2 separate regions of the Homo sapiens genome follow, and region 2 is linked to region 1. The links are contacts of gene promoters, found by promoter capture Hi-C in blood cells and fetal thymus (Javierre and others, 2016). All regions are on one chromosome and are shown on one strand. The core of a region is centred on a gene start or on the middle of the fragment in contact, and the rest is flanking DNA. Distances in the headings are between cores, read along the strand shown. Region 1 holds the start of ATP1A1-AS1 (ATP1A1 antisense RNA 1). Region 2 overlaps CD101-AS1 (CD101 antisense RNA 1).

Evidence for each region. The method cuts DNA at HindIII sites, captures the fragments that hold promoters and counts their contacts. A CHiCAGO score of 5 or more calls a contact.
Region 2: a fragment that was not itself captured here is called in contact with the fragment with the promoter of ATP1A1-AS1 in region 1 in 8 of 17 cell types (total B cells, fetal thymus, naive B cells and 5 more); the score reaches 10.2 in total B cells.

Annotation. Positions count from the first base shown.
Region 1 is chr1:116,417,274-116,419,973 of GRCh38, reverse strand. ATP1A1-AS1 (ATP1A1 antisense RNA 1) reads left to right here and starts at 1,352. Exons shown (of 3, transcript NR_027646.1): 1 at 1,352-1,515. RefSeq lists a silencer at 1,144-1,273 and an enhancer at 1,233-1,527. The HindIII fragment of the contact is 1,476 bases long and covers 747-2,222 here.
Region 2 is chr1:117,053,245-117,055,944 of GRCh38, reverse strand. All of the region lies in intron 1 of CD101-AS1 (CD101 antisense RNA 1), which reads left to right. Among named protein-coding and RNA genes, the nearest start is that of CD101-AS1, 4.9 kb to the left of the region's middle. The HindIII fragment of the contact is 6,290 bases long and covers 1-2,700 here.

The DNA of each region.
Region 1 (2,700 bases), core at 103-2,602:
GGCGTGGTGGCGGGCGCCTGTAGTCCCAGCTACTCAGGAGGCTGAGGCAGGAGAATGGCGTGAACCTGGGAGGCGGAGCTTGCAGTGAACGGAGATCGCGCCACTGCACTCCAGCCTGGGCGACAGAGCGAGATACCGTCTCACAAAAAAAAAAAAAAAAAAAAAAAAAGTGCACTTTAGATGTTTTCCTGGTGGGGGGGGGGGGGAGTGGGATATAAGTAGCAGTGTTCCAAGTACCAAAACCTCCCTGAGTCATCTGTGAAAAGCCATTTGGCAATAATACTGAAAGCTTTTAAATGCTCACATTCTGACTTAGCAGTTTCACTCCTGTGAATATAACCTAAGGAAACTGATCTCAATACTGAAAGGACTTTATACACAAGAATGGGCTGGGCAGCAAAGTGCTGTAATCCCAGCACTTTGGGAGGCCGAGGCCGGGTCGAGGGAGAAGCACCTGAGGTCAGAAGTTCGAGACCAGCCTGGCCAACATGATGAAACCCCGTCTCTACTGAAAGTACAAAAATTAGGTGGGCGTGGTGGCAGATGCCCGTAATCTCAGCTACTCAGGAGGCTGAGGCAGGAGAATCTCTTGAACCTGGAAGGCGAAGGTTGCAGTGAGCTGAGATCGCGCCACTGCACTCCAGCCTGGGCGACAAGAGCGAGACATCGTCTCAAAAAACAAACAAACAAACAAACAAACAACCAAACAAAACAAAAAAGAATGAATAATTTATAATCGTGAAGCTTTGGAAGCCACTTGAATGTTGAACATTTGCGAGATGCTCAGAGAAGTGACAGCGTATCAACCCAATTTTTTAAAGTCCTGCCATTAAAAATTATAGGTAGGAAGCGTCAGTACTAACACGGTGAAAATGTTCATGTTACAAAGTGGAAAACAACCCTGGATTCAGTTTAGTATGTGCGTTTTACCACAGCTATGTAGAAACAAATCCATACACATGGAAATCGAATGAAGTGAAACGCATGCAAATGGTAATGATGCTGTGCTTGGAGGCAGAATTGGAAGCAGTGTTAAAGTTATTTATCATCATTCGTGTTTTTAAAATGCCGTGTGATGGCCGCAATACTTCTGTAACGAATGATGTTTAAGCACGGAGCCCTTCACTGGCCGACGCGCGGGTGGGAGATAGGAGCCGCGCCCAAGCTCAGGTGGCGGCTGCGGGCAGGGCCGCCTGGGGCCGCAGCCGGGCGCGCTCCCGGCGGGGACCCTCTGCTCTCCTTGCAGACGGAGGCCGCGCCGGGTTTGGAGGCATCCCACAGCCTCAGGCCGAGGACCCGCCGCGAAGCGCCGCCTCCGCGGGTTGACCCTCTGCAGCCGCCGTAGCGCAGAGACGAATCCGCGCTCCCCCAGGCTGTCGCGCGAGCTCCCCGGAAGCTCCCACCTGAGCGGCGCATCCTCAGGGCCTGGGCCTGGCCTCCTTGCCTGTGAGATGGCACTGTGACGGTGCCCACCTCGTGGGGTGTGTGAGGGCCGAGTGAAATCGTGCATTTGCGGTAAGAAAGTGCTTATCACGGTGCCCAGTCCTAATATGGGCTGCCAGCCTAAGTACAGAGTCCCAATCCCAGCCCAAAGGCCAGTTTCCAGGTGAACCCTTGTCGGGGAGACCACCAGACGGAACAGTCCCAGTCTACACTCCTGCACCGAGCAGGGGACAGTGTGGACCGCAGAGAGGTCCGAAGTCCCTTTAGAATAAGGATGGTGCTTCAGGGTTGTTAAAAGGATTAAATGAGATGATATCTAAAGGGATTAGCACAGTGGCTGGTGCTAAAATAAATCATTTTCTCTACTGCCACTGCTCTTACAACCAGACGCCTGGAACAGCCTGCTGGTTCGTCTCCTCATTTGTAAGCTGGAGTTAGTAGGTGTGTTGTGAAGGTTGAGAGAATATGCATAGGCAGAACCTGGCGTTTAATATTTGGGAAGTGGCAGCAATTCTTTCTTCATTAATCTACAAGCTGCACTGTGGTAGGCACATACCCTTAGCACCGATTCTTATAAGTGCAGGTAAGAGAGAGAGAAGATATATTGTGTAAGTCGAAGGAGCCAGCCGTGTCCAGGCCACCGCAAAACCTCGACAGTACTGTACCAGGGCCCTCTTCAGTGAATGAATCTCCTCTTTGGCCTGTTTGCTGTCTGTTTGCATTTGCTGCACCCATCAGTTCCCAAACCTGGTCTCTAAAGTCAGGAGCTCAAGGAAGCTTGTCCCAATCCTAGAAAACAAGTACAGCACACACCAACAGCAGCATCCCTAAAAGCCAGCCCTACTGGCAATGCGGGCCCTGCAACCCGTAGGTAAGTGGGACACTCTAAGCTTCTTGGAAACAGCTAACTCAGGGCCTGATTAGCTTACTCCCGCCTCCTGTCTTCAGGAAATCAGACTGTGTAAAATAAGAGAGAAAAGAAAATTGACATAAGTCTATTCCACTGTCTAATGAAATGTGTTTCACTTGTGTTTAAAGTGAATTGTGGGCTGGCGTGGTGGCTCATTTGCCTATAATCCCAACACTTTAGGAGGCCAAGGCAGGCAGATGGCTTGAGCTCAGAAGTTTGAAATCAGCCTGGCAACATGCAAAAACCCCATCTCTACAAAAAATATAAAAATTAGCAGGATGTGGTGGCGCATGCCTGTAGTCCCAGTTACTCTGGAGGCTGAGGTGGGAGGATGGCTTGAGCCTGGC
Region 2 (2,700 bases), core at 1-2,500, 640 kb before region 1:
AGTGCAGTGGCGTGATCTCGGCTCACTGCAACCTCCACTTCCCAGGTTTAAGCAATTCTCCTGCCTCAGCCTCCCAAGTAGCTGGGATTACAGGCACCCACCACCACGCCCAGCAATTTTGTGTATTTTTAGTAGAGATGGGGTTTCGCCATGTTGGCCAGGCTGGTCTCGAACTCCTGAGACCTCAGGTGATCCACCTGCCTCGGCCTCCCAAAGTGCTGGGATTACAGGCCTGAGCCACTGCGCCCAGCCTATAGTATTTTTATAAAGCATAAATTATTCAGCAATGCATTCAGATATTTAACCCACACATCGGTAAGTGTTTAGGTATTTGCTGTGGTGTAGAGACATGGCTCAACAAATCCAAGACAAAAACCAAAAACCCAAGTCCTGCCATTTTATAAATGACCACTAGGTAGCAGCCTAGTAACATAAAAACCAAACTGAGGCCCACCCTCCTCTGTTTCATTCTTTTTGTTTGAAGATATATAATGGTAATTCAATTTCATTTCATTTCATTTTGTGCCTTTCAAACATATGACTGTTTTCAACTTGTCCTTTGACATAGGCTCGATCAGGATGATACTATAGTGAGAACAAATGTGGTTATAATTTGTAAAGCCAAGAGACTTTACAAATTATTTTGTTATACCAATATTTTTTCAGTACTAGATTCCAAATTTCACTGTTCTTAAAATATTATTCCAAAAGTGGTTCAATGCAGGCTCTTTATCTTCTTCTTTTTTTTTTTTTTTTTTTTTGGTAAATGTACAGGTATTTTTTTCAGTTGGAGTCTTGTCTGTTACCCAGGCTGGAGTGGAGTGCAATGGTAGGATCTTGGCTCACTGCAACCTCCGCCTCCTGGGTTCAAGTGATTCTCCTGCCTCAGCCTCCTGAGTAGCTGGGATTATAGGCTTGTGCCACCACGCTCAGCTAATTTTTGTATTTTTAGTAGAGATGGGGTTTCACCATGTTGTCCAGGCTGGTCTTGAACTCCTGAACTCAGGTGATCCACTCGCCTCGACCCCCCAAAGTGCTGGGATTACAGGCTTGAGCCATCGCGCCCGGCCACAATTCTTTTTTTTTTTTTTTTGAGACAGAGTCTCACTCTGTTGCCAGGCTGGAGTACAGTGGCATGATCTTGGCTCACTGTAACCTCTGCCTCCTGGGTTCAAGTGACTCTCCTGCCTCAGCCTCCCGAGTAGCTGGGATTACAGGTGCCCGCCACCACGCCTGGCCAATTTTTGTATTTTTAGTAGAGATGGGGTTTCACCCTGTTGGCCAGGCTGGTCTCGAACTCCTGAACTCAGGTGATCCACCCGCCTCGGCCTCCCAAAGTGCTGGGATTACAGGCATGAGCCATCACACCTGGCCCACAATTCATTGTTTAAGTAAATTTATAAAGTTGTGCCATCACCACCAGAATCCAGTTTTAAAACATTTCTATCACTCAAAAACTTTCCTCAAAGCTGTGTGCAGTCAATCCCAACTGCCACCCCCAGCTAGTCCCAAGGCAACCTCTGATATGCTTTCTGTCTTTATAAGTTTGCCTTTTCTGGACATTTCATATAATGGAGTCATGTAATATGTAGTCTCTTGCCTCTGTCTTCTTTCACTTACATAATGCTTGTGAGGTTTACCCATGTTGCACATGTATCAGTATTTCACTCCTTTTTATTGCTGAGTAATATTCCATTGTGTTCATTCACCAGTTGGTGGACATTTGGATCATTTTCCCTTTGGAATTATTAGGAATAATATTGCTATGAACATTAATGTTAAAGTCTGTTTTATTGTTTTTGTTTTTGTTTTTTTGTTTTTTGTTGTTGTTGTTTTTGAGATGGAGTCTTGCTCTGTCACCCAAGCTGGAGTGCAGTGGCATGATCTTGGCTCACTGCAACCTCCAGCTCCCAGGTTCAAGCAATTCTCCTGCCTCAGCCTCCCGAGTAGCTGGGATTATAGGCTCGAGCCACCACGTAAGCTAATTTTTATATTTTTAGTAGGGACAGGGTTTCACCATGTTGGCCAAGCTGGTCTCAAACTCCTGACCTCAGGTAATCTATCTGCCTCAGCCTCCCTAAGTACTGGGATTACAGGCATGAGCCACCGCACCCGGCCTAACGTTAAAGTCTTTATATGAACATTTGTTCTCATTTCTCTTGGGCAGATAAACCTGTGAGTGGAATTGCTAGTTCATATGGTTAGTTTGTTTAACTTTTTAAGAAATTGCCAAACCACTTTCCAAAGTGGCTATACCATTTTATATTTCCACCAGCAACGTATGAGGGTTCCCAGTTCTTCATGTCCTCAACAATGCTTGTTATTGCGTGCCTTTTTTAGTAGGTATGAAGTGGTATCTGACTTTTGTTTGAATTTTGATTTTTCTATTGATGTGGCACTCTTTTTCGTGTGCTTTTTAGCCATCATCTTCCTCTTTTTAAATGGTCTTGAAAGTCTTTTTCCTTTAACGTTTGTATGGAACTTAAACCTAAGTTAAAATGACATTAATTGTTATTAATACAAAGACATAAAAAGACATAGTAATCATTTGTATAATGTTAAGTAACAAACATTATACAATGTACTATGTACTATGAGTATAGTCATGTCAATTTGTTTTTTTTTTTTTTTTTGGAGACAGGGTCTCACTCAGCCCCTCAGGCTGGAAGTGGTGCAGTCTCAGCTCACTGCAGCCTTGTT